3 separate regions of the Homo sapiens genome follow, and all the other regions are linked to region 3. Evidence: promoter capture Hi-C in human tissues and cell types (Jung and others, 2019). All regions are on one chromosome and are shown on one strand. The core of a region is centred on a gene start or on the middle of the fragment in contact, and the rest is flanking DNA. Distances in the headings are between cores, read along the strand shown.

What was found. Contacts are between HindIII fragments. The study calls those that stand out against the background at their distance.
Region 1: a fragment that was not itself captured here is called in contact with the fragment with the promoter of BMP8A in region 3 in 1 of the 25 tissues and cell types used here (hippocampus).
Region 2: the fragment with the promoter of HEYL here is called in contact with the fragment with the promoter of BMP8A in region 3 in 1 of the 25 tissues and cell types used here (small bowel).

What each region holds. Positions count from the first base shown.
Region 1 is chr1:39,665,910-39,669,304 of GRCh38, forward strand. It overlaps NT5C1A (5'-nucleotidase, cytosolic IA), which reads right to left. Exons shown (of 6, transcript NM_032526.3): 2 at 160-327. Among named protein-coding and RNA genes, the nearest start is that of NT5C1A, 4.5 kb to the right of the region's middle. The HindIII fragment of the contact is 5,410 bases long and covers 1-3,395 here.
Region 2 is chr1:39,638,344-39,641,789 of GRCh38, forward strand. HEYL (hes related family bHLH transcription factor with YRPW motif like) reads right to left here and starts at 1,300. Exons shown (of 5, transcript NM_014571.4): 1 at 1,203-1,300. The coding sequence starts at 1,282. RefSeq lists silencers at 1,077-1,146, 1,267-1,656. The HindIII fragment of the contact is 11,489 bases long and covers 1-3,446 here.
Region 3 is chr1:39,490,238-39,493,776 of GRCh38, forward strand. BMP8A (bone morphogenetic protein 8a) reads left to right here and starts at 1,399. Exons shown (of 7, transcript NM_181809.4): 1 at 1,399-2,088. The coding sequence starts at 1,755. LOC124904101 (a long non-coding RNA gene) reads right to left here and starts at 1,311. Exons shown (of 2, transcript XR_007065978.1): 1 at 452-1,311. RefSeq lists silencers at 898-1,527, 1,628-1,727. The HindIII fragment of the contact is 32,682 bases long and covers 1-3,539 here.

The DNA of each region.
Region 1 (3,395 bases), core at 662-3,161, 180 kb after region 3:
TTTCTTCCCAAAAGACTCTGTCACCTAGCCAAGCTGTGTACCTGTGTGGTTACATCTGCCCAGAGGGGCCCTTTCACCTTACTCAAATACTCATGGGAGTGCTTTTTTCTAATCCCCACGAAGGCGCTATATGAGCTAGTGGTGGAACTGCTCCCTCACCTTCACAAAAGGGAAGGCTGGCCCGGGACTGAAGGGTTCGTTCTCATGTTCCAGCTGGTAGCGCACGTACTCCTCCACGCCCTGCTCCGTGTAGATCTGCTGCTCCTCGTCCATGCGAAACAAGGCTCGGGAGGACACAGCGATGGTGACTGCATTCTGAGGCTTGGGCTGCAGAGGTATGGGAGAAGGGGTTGTCACTCAGATGACTGCCCCTGAGGCAGGCTCACATGTGTGAGTCTCCCTGGGTAGTGAGGACATGGAGAAGACCCAGACCCAGTCTCTACCTAAAGAGGCCCAGCCTTGAGCAGATGTGGACTTAGGTCAGGACCCCATCTATGACGGACCCAGATGGGGGTTGAGAGAGGTGCTGGCTCCCTTGCTGGAAGCACAATCTGATGGAGGGAGGGCCATGCCCTTGGGAGTTTGCAATCTAGCCAGGCATCTGGACACAAGAAAAAAATGAAGCCAATGTATGTGGCCAACGTGTGACTGATGCTGGAGATGATCTCAGTTGGTTTCCATTGTAAAATAAGAGCTGCATGCCCTTAGGAAGAAATGATGCCCATAAATATGACAATTTATATAAAAAATGTATCTGCAACCCAGATCTGTCTCCTGAGCTCCAGATTCATACATCCATCTAACTGCCCCAGTTGACTAACAGCCTCTCAAAGTTAACATTCCCAAGGCTGAATTCCCATCACCTTCTCCCCTCCCAAACCTGATCCCTTCTCCCTGTAACTCATAGCAAGGCTTAGAACCACTATCCACTCATTACTGAAGCAGAAGCTGGGAAGTCAGCCTCAACTCCCTTCCTCATCAATCGATTACCGAAATGAGTCAACTCTACTAGAATCCACCCACTTCTTTCGTTCAGGCCATCATCATCTGTCACATTCTCTAATCTGTCATTCATGCTGCTGTCAGGGGATTTTTCTAAAGTTCAGATCTGACCACAGCCCCCCTCTTTAGTGGTGCACACTATTCTCAGAATATGGCTGGCAGCCTCTAGTGTGGAAATAGAAAGCCCTTCACAACAGACCCCTACTTCTCTTTCCATTCCCCTCTTCCAATCCCCTAGCTTTGCCCCACCTGGGCTTTCTCACATCAGGTCATACTTTCCCCCTCTTTTTTTTTTTTTTTTTTTTCTGAGATGGAGTTTCACTCTTGTTGCCCAGGCTGGAGTGCAGTGGTGTGATCTCAGCTCACTGCAACCTCCACCTCTCAGGTTCGAGCAATTGTCCTGCCTCAGCCTCCCAAGTAGCTGGGACTATAGGTACCCGCCACCCCAGACAGCAGCTGGACCTTTATAGTCCCTAGGGAGGATCAGAATATGAGTGCCCAAGGGATTTACAGATACCCAGAGAATCCCACCACATCTCTGTGTCCTGAGCAGTCCTGGGGTCCTGATTCCCACTTTACAAATTAAAAATGAGGGGCTCAAATTGAGGTCAAGGCTCATAAATGCACCTTGCATTCTTGCCTCTCCTGATCATCCGTGGGTCATGTACTCAACCCCATTTCTTCTTCCTGGGGTCAGTCCTGGGCTCCAATCAGTTGACAACATTGAGTGGTTACCATCTGAGAGACACCGTGGTGGACATGGCAGGAAACAACACAAGTGTGATCCCTGTCCCCATGGAGCTCATGATCCAACCCCAAGACAGAGGCCAATGCCATCTTTTAAAAGAGCAATGTCCAATGGAACTTTCTATGATAATGGAAATATTCCATAATCTGTGCTCTCCCTGTGGCTGTGGAACAATTTGAAATGTGACTAATGAGACTGAGGAGCTGAATTTTAGATTTTACTTCATTTAAATGAACTTAAACAGCTATACGTGGCTAGTGGTAAATGCAGCTTTAGAACCTTATAATAGGAGTGGAAGACAAAAGAGTTCCCCAAGGTCATGTGGTAGACCTCAGTTTGCATTTGACTTTTAACCCCAACCAAGATGGTGTATGTGGCCAGCAAGGTCTGCATAAGGCAGTGGCAGGACAGGTGCTTCTTCTTGGAGGTTCAACCCAAATACCTTTCTCAGTTGCTGACTACCACCATGTGTGTGTCCTAAGGGTGGGGTTGGTGGTGGAGTGGGGAGACCCACTCTCATAAACCCTGGAAGCCTGGAGGCCTTTGGAACAGGAGCTGAGCTTGCTCCACCCACTGGGCTTACTGCCCCAGGGACAGGGCCATCACCCCTCTAAGGACAGAGAGTCAGCTGCCCTCCCAGCCCCATTAGGCAGGTTCCCAAGCCTGCCACTCCAACCCTGGCAGCCAGCTAAGGTCTCGCTCCTCACTTTCTGTCCCACAGTCCCTGCCAGACTGCCAAGTCCTGGGCTCCCTCTGGCTGAGCTACCCAGACAGACCCCAATCCATCCCGCCCCTGGTTGTTGCAAGAAAAACGTCCTGGTTGCATTGGCCCCAAGAGTCCTCTGCTTCTCTCTTTTCCAGATGGGGAAACAGGCCCAGAAAGGGGCCTGTTACTCTAGGTCAAGGCAGAGCAAGATGACATCTCAAGTCTCCGGCCTCTAGCCTGGCCTCTATCCACACTGCAGTCCCCTTGCTATTCCTCTCCTCAACAGTTCCCAGAAGATTCTATCCCTTGCTACTTCCGCCTTCCCTGGAAACATCTCCCCCAGCCTTCACTTTCCAGATTTGGGAGAAATGATCAGGGCGTGCCCACAAACTGAGGTTTCTAACGGCAGGTCTCTGTTTCCCAGCAGAATGGGGGTCCCAAGGGCAGGACTGTGCATCCCCACTTAGACTGCTGTGACACAGTATGAGTGAGGTGGAGTCTAAGATCCCAGAGGCCATGGCTGTGTAAGAAATATGGATCCCAGCTGGGACTGATGAATGACCTGTCCAGGCTCCAGGTGGAGCTGAAGGAGCAGGTGAAATGGGCTGGCCAGAGATAGGGACAAGTTGTGGACATAGAGACCCTCCTGGGCCTGGCCGCAGAGGTGGCCATGTGTTGGCAGGGGCATCTAGGAACAGTTCCTCCAGAGAGCAGAAAGAAGCCCTGATCTCAGACTGGGAATTGGGTCAGAGTGACTCAAGGGCTCACTCTGGGAGCTCTGAGCTCCAGGAAACCAGGGTGCTGGCAGCTCTCTCTGCCTTTCAGGGTCAGGCTGATGGCTCCGGCTAGGGGATGGGAATGGAAGAATAACAGAGTGCAGCCCACCCCCACCTGGACTTCCTGAGGAGCTCCCATTTAGGCTAACGTAATTCTGCCTAT
Region 2 (3,446 bases), core at 50-2,549, 150 kb after region 3:
CACTTTGGGAGGCCAAGGCAGGAGGATCACTTAAGCCCAGGAGATCAAGGTTGCCATGAGCTATGATCATGCCACTGCACTCCAGCATGGGCAACAGAGTGAGACCATGTCAAAAAGAAAGAAAGAAAGAATTAACTGAATTCCCCTCCAATTCTGTTCTAGAGAGTCAAGTCTAGATGAGCCAAGAGAGATGAAGTATATCCCTTTCTTTTCCACTGCTGTCTTTGTTTTACTGATGGGGAAACTGATGACAGACTCTGTCAGGGAAACCAATGGCCCAAGACCACATAGTGAGTTGGTGGCAGATTTGGGGCTGGGACCCAGGTCTGCAGACTCCCAGTCAGCCCTGCAGCTCTTTCAGGGTGCTGGGAATCACATGGTGTGTACCTAGGCATGTGCTGTGCTAAGCCCTTGACATACTTTGCCTCATTTGGTTTTCCCAATATTTCCATGAAGTTGGTTCTATTATTCATGCTCATTTAACAGATAAGGAAACTGAAGCTTAGACAGTTTACAGAACTGCGAGGTAGCAGAACTATACAAGCGCAGTTTGTTCGACAGGTTTGAAGCAGGTCAGACTATCTACCAGGAGCTGAAAGACACTGGCAGTATGGGGGCACGATAGGAGGAACATTGGAATTAGAGTCTAGGCCCTTGCAAGTCGCTTATTATTTTCTTCAATACTAAGTCCCTAAATCCAAACTCCAATTTGCTCAAAGGAGGACAAATTTTCTTCTTCCTGAAATAATTTGTGGACTACATGAAAACTGCATCCAAACTAGGGTAAAATTGGGAAAGGATGGGGTTACTCTGCATCGTCAGCAGATTCCAGACAGGGGCCAGAGTACCATCAGTCTATGAGAGTTTTCTAAGATCTCCAGGGAAAACCTGCCAATGGCCTCCCCTAGGCCACTTCAACAGATAGATGATAACCCACTAGCCACCTGATCCCCCGAGCTGAACTCTCCCTCCCTGCCAGCATCCCCAGCCCTGCACGACCGAGAGCGCGCAGGATCCAGGCACTCGTGCGTGTAACGGCACGGCCCGCACACGCCCCCTACGCCGACACCTGTGGCCCCCGCGCTCACCTGCCTCTGCCCAGGCGGTGCTGGAGGGCTGGCCCGCCTGCTCGGCGAGCCCGTCGGGCCGACCCCCACCCCGCTCGCCCTCCGCCTGCTCGGTCCCCGCATCCCGGCCCTTACCTCAGCTGGCCCTCTTGGCCCACGTCGATGGGTCCGTCGGACTCCCCGTCGGAGCCGCTCGGCTCCTTGGGTCGCTTCATGGCGAACGCAGGCTGCCTGGTCTCAGCCCCGCGGCTAAGGCTCCCAGTCGGGAAGTCAGGCCCCGCCCCGGCCCCGCCCCGGCCCCGCCTCGGGGGCGCCGCCACCGCCCTTTCCCAGGGCCCTTTCCTGCGCCGCAGCTCCGGGCGCCCAGGCGCCCCCTCGCCCCCGCGGTGACGCGCCGCCGAGCCGTGGGAAGGCCCTAGGCGGTCGCCGCCTTCATCGACGGCTGGGAGGTCCGGCTCTGCTCCGCTGTCTCGGCTGCCGCGCGCTGGGTGGCCTTGGGCAGGTGCCCTGGGAGGCCCCGCGGGGAAGCCAGGAGTCCCCGTCTGTCCCTGGGTCGCCTGGGCGCTGCTGGCCTGTAGAGGCGCCGCTTCGATGCCCGGGATTCCGCAAGGGTCAACCCTGCGCGCTCCTGCCTCCTGGTGTTCTGGAGGCAGCAGACACATCAAGTTTGTCGAAGTTAGTCGTGGTGGTTGTGGCCTGATCCTCAGCAAGAATTCCCCAGCAGCAACTCCATAGGGGCCCAAAGCAAGTGGAATAGTGTGGTGGGGGCAAGGGGAAGACACTTACACTTCTGAGAGGTGGCAGTCACCCCCAAAAGGGACGGCTGAAGTTGTGGCCACCGCATCTGAGAAAGCTGGGCTCTGGCCGAGGTCCCTAAAGGCCTGGCGTGGTGGCAGTGGTGGGTTGTCCCTGGGAATCAGTTCCCAGTTCACCAGAGGTCGAGTTGTCCTGGGCGGCCAGGAGGCCAGGAAAGGGCTCCTTCTAGACGCTATGGCAGGGCCTCAAAGTGGGAGAAGGAGAGGAAAAGGGAAGATACCTTCCAGCCTCTCTTCCTGGGGCCTCTGCTTCTGGCAACCCATCAAACTGTTCACTCAGGGAGGGCTCTAGCTGCCCTGTCCTTAGGGGGACTTGTGGGAAGTTCTCAGATTCACCGGTCATCCTCAGGCGCCCAGTACCTCAGAGAAGCTCCTAAGGCTCCAAAGGAAGCTGCATGAGAGCATCCTGGAGCTGGACTTCTTGGGCAGGGAAGAGGAGATAGAGGAGGTCTTGGTGTGCTGGGTTAGATATGAGAGGTCTTTTCCTTTTTACCCGCCACCAGGTCAGGACCTGAGGGAAGCCACCCCTTCAAGTGGGAGAATCGGGTTGGTCATCTGAGAATAACTGTGCTTCCATCCCCACAGCAAGGCCTGCTTGCTGGGGGACACTTGATTACTTGATGGGAAAGAATGTTCCTGTGCCCCCGTCCACACACATCCACAGACACAACCATTTGGCCAGGTATGCAAACACATACACACGGACAGACTTACAAATATATACTGGTAGGCGCAACTGTCGTGAGCAATCAGTACCAGGAAGCCCTGGTGGTCGCCCCAGCCACAACTATGGACTCTCATTCCAAATGCCCTCAGCACTCACATCACTTCTGTGGGCACATGCCAGTCAGTGGAAACCTCAACTAACAGAGAAGTTGCACAATGTGTTATGCATTCCCTGGAAAGGCGGAAGTCAAGGAAGCCTCCCAGATAGCTGCCCTGTGTAATTGGCTGAGATAGCAAAGATTGGAAGAGGAGCAGATTTGCAGGGGAAGGTCAAGGGCCCCGTGATGGACGTTTCATGTGAGATGTCTTGGATCATCAAAATACAGTGCACAGTTAAATAGAGGGTATGGAGTTCAGAACAGAGGTCTCAGCTGGATATTAAATTTGGACGTCATTAGGTAATTGATGGCATTTAAAGCTATGGGAGCAGATGGGATCATTCAGAAAACGTGGATGGAGACAGAGCAGGGGCCTAGCTAAATACTTAACATTTGGTGAGCCCTTATTATAAAACCTGAAACTATTCTAAGTCTTTTGTAAATATTAACTCATTTAATCCTTGACAACCCTATAAAGTAGTAATATTATAATCCCCACTTTACAAGTGAGAAACAAAGGCTGAGAGGTAGACTAACTCCACCTAAGGCCAACAGGCAATAAATGGAAGGGCTGGAATTCAACAAGGCAGTTCAGTTCCAGAGCCAAAACATTAGGCTTTATTACTTTATACAGTACTCCCCCTTCTTTTAAAAATAAAGACAAGGATTCACTCTGTCACCAGGCTAGAGTGTAGTGGTGCCATCGTAGCTCACTGAAACCTTGAACTCCTTGGCTCAAG
Region 3 (3,539 bases), core at 149-2,648:
TTTTTGGGGGCATTATACACTTGCTTCGAGGTTTAATCTTCAATCCACATGGCGGGGCACCATAATCTCTGGTGCCCAGGGCCCTCGTCTAGCCCCTGTGAGGCCCTTTGCGGTGCCTCCCTTGCCAGCCCCTCCAGCCTCCGCCGTTTGCCCCCTGGGCTCTCCAGTTTCCACTGCCCCCCTGCCCGAGCGCAGCTCCACTGCTGTGTGACCTGGCGTAAGTCCCTTAACCGCCGTGTGCCTCAGTTTCCTCATTTATTAAAAGAGGAGGTTCCAGTGGTATGTACCCCCTAACGATGTGCGAGCATCACAGAAATGACACGAGACACACACTCAGAACATGCCTTGGCGTGGCAAGTGCTGACTGTTGCCATTATTAGGCTCCCCAGCCGGGGTCTCAGGGCCTTGGCACAAGCTATTCCCTCTGCCTGGAGCACTTTCCTCCACTGACCTTTCCTGGCGCTCCAGGTCAACTCCAGGAGCCTTCCCAGTGCAGTCTAGGTGCCTTCTCCTTCCGCAGCGCCTGAACCACACAGGAATAAGTAAGGCGAGAGCGCGCCCAGGGAAGAGCAGGTGTGCAGAAAGGGACTGAGTCAGTCGAGACGTTTCCGCGGGGATCCTTCTCTTGGCAGGCCTGCACCGGGGCCGTGGGGACTGAGAAGATGTGCACAGGTGGCTCCCGAGTGCTCGGGAAGGGCCCCAGAGCTTCTGGCCCAGCTGGAGGCAGGAGGCGGAGCCTCCTCCGCAAAGCTGGATCAGTACCGGGGACGCAGGGCGCACAGCTAGGGCTGGCGGGGGCGGCCCGACTGGGGCGCTGCCTGGGCTCACGCGGGAGCCAGGTGGGGGACGCAGGGAGAAGCAGCCGAGCAGGTGCCGAGAAGGAGGCGCCCGCAGAAGCGCATGCAGGGGCCACGGGGAAGGCGCCAGGAGGCGGTGAGGGGCCGCGGTGGCCGGAACCCGGGCCGGCTGCTGCGGGCAGAGGAACAGGCCCCACCCGCGGGGCTTGGCTGGCACCGCCCGGCTCTCCAGACGGGGCTACGGCCGCGTGTCGGGCCCGGTGGCGACCACGGCACACCACGGCGAGGCAGCCGGGTGGCACCACTGGCGGGACCGGGACGGCGCCGCGGCCTTAGGATCTCTGCGCCGAGGCCCGCGGCGGGAGCCACGACGGCCCTGACCACGCTGACGCCCAGGCTGCGGGCTCCTCGCCCGGACCAACCGCCAGCCACGCCGAGGTCGCACCTCGGGGTCGCCCCACCCGCAACACCTGCCGCCGCCCGGGGCTCCTAGCGGGCGCGGCCTCCGCGCCCAGGCCCCGCCCCCGCGCCCCCATTGGTCAGTCCCGGGGGTGGGCGGGCGGCACAGACGGCTGAGCCGGGGCAAGGACTCGCGGGAATCGCGCCGCCCGGGTCGCTGCCGGAGCTCGCCGGTCGCCCCTGCGCTGCGCGGACCGCAGCCACAGCCGGACTGGTGGGAACGGCGGCGACAGACGGATTGGCTGACAGTCCCAGCCCTCAGAACAGCCCCGGCCTCGAAGCGTTGGCGTCTGCGTCCGCGTCAGCGTCCGCTTGTCCCGGAGCCGGGGCAGGTGCGCGCGGGGGGCGCTCCAGGGACCGCGCTGAGGCCGCAGACGCCGCCCGCCGAGCCCCGCCCCCTGCTCGCCGAACTCAGCTCCCCGTTCGCCGTCGGGGCGTCCCCGGGCCCAGGGGCGGCGGCGGAGCTGATGTGCGCCCGCTGAGCGCCCCCGGCCCGCCATGGCCGCGCGCCCCGGACCGCTCTGGCTTCTGGGCCTGACGTTGTGCGCGCTGGGCGGGGGCGGCCCCGGCCTGCGACCCCCGCCCGGCTGTCCCCAGCGACGTCTGGGCGCGCGCGAGCGCCGGGACGTGCAGCGCGAGATCCTGGCGGTGCTCGGGCTACCCGGGCGGCCCCGGCCCCGCGCGCCACCCGCCGCCTCCCGGCTGCCCGCGTCCGCGCCGCTCTTCATGCTGGACCTGTACCACGCCATGGCTGGCGACGACGACGAGGACGGCGCGCCCGCGGAGCAGCGCCTGGGCCGCGCCGACCTGGTCATGAGCTTCGTCAACATGGGTGAGTGCGGCCGCCCGCGCGGGGACCCTCGGAGTAAGCTGGCTGCAGGGGAGGGGCGCGCATCCGCGGGCGGTGCCGGGCCCTGGCCGAACGGGGAATCACAGACGGTGGACGCGAACCACAGGGGAGTGGGACCGCCGTGGTTAGGGAAGGTCTAAGGGTCATGGGGGCCCCCTGGGCTGCGGGGTGGTCAGGAGCAGAGTGTGGGGGACTGTGGACTCCCAGGCGCTGCCTTCACCCTGCCCCAGACACACCCAGGAGTAAGAATTAGGTGATGTCTTTGCCCACCTGGGCTGCCCCGGGAAGACAGCCTGGTCCTGGGGAGACAGGTGAGTAAACAGAGGCCGGGATGCTGTCACTGTGATAAGGACAGTACTGAGGAGAGGGACAAAGTTCAGCGTGGAAACCTGTGGTCACATCATCGGAGTGACCAGAGCTGAGTCGCGTGCCCTGAGTCCACAGCAGGCTCTTCCCTGTGCGGAGCCTGGGTGGGGTGCGGCTGTCAGGGGAGCGGCTGGGGAAGGAGCAGACTCAGCTCGCTGGGGCAGGGACTGTGGCCTTGTCACCCTGGGCCCTGCACTTAGCATGTGGCCTGGTATAGGGTGAGTGTCCGGTCCTGTGGAATGGCCCAGTGGGCAGCTGGACCCACTGTGTTCTCCCAGGCAAAGCCGGGCTTTTCCTGTCTGCAAACATCTTGTATCAAACCCTGGAGCTATTTATTCCTTAAGATCTCAGATTTTTCTTTTCCAGTACTAAACTCTTTGGTCTATGCTCGTGTAGTTACTGTTGGTCAGGTCCCCCGTCTGCTTTGCCTCCTGTCTGTGGCTAGTGACAGGCCGGGGTCTGGGAGCCAAGGACCACAGCTCAGCCCGAAGTGGGGGAGCTGTGGGGCTGAGAGCAGGGAGTGGGTACCTGCCCCAGCCACCAGCCTCCCTCCACAGACAGCATCATTAATTCTTCATCCTCCCGACAACCCTGATAACAGCCACGGTCTTCATCCCCATCTCCCAGATGAGGACAGTGAGGTTCAGAGAGGCAGCGCCATGCCTAGGACAGCGCAGCCTCTATGTTGCTGAGCCAGGACAGGCCCAGGAAGCCTGACTGTCCATCCAGGGCTCAATGAGATGACATTTCTGTTGTCAGGTCAGGCTTTCAGGGTGCAGAGAGCTTTCTGAGGAGTCTGGGCTGAGGAACACAGGGTACTGAGCTGCAGCAGGTCTTGTGGGGCCATCAGCCATTTGCTTCCTACACTAGAGCAGAAGAGGGCATGGCCAAGCCTCTGCTTCCCGCAACCCAGAGCTGGTGGTGGAGGCGAGCAGCAGAAGGCAGCCATTCACCATCGCTGAGCGCCCAGTGCCAGGGACAGGACTCTAGCCGGTGGGATCTGTATGCTGCCTTTGTAGTTAGAGGACAGGGTGGGGATGTGGGACAGAGGAGACCATCTGTGAAGC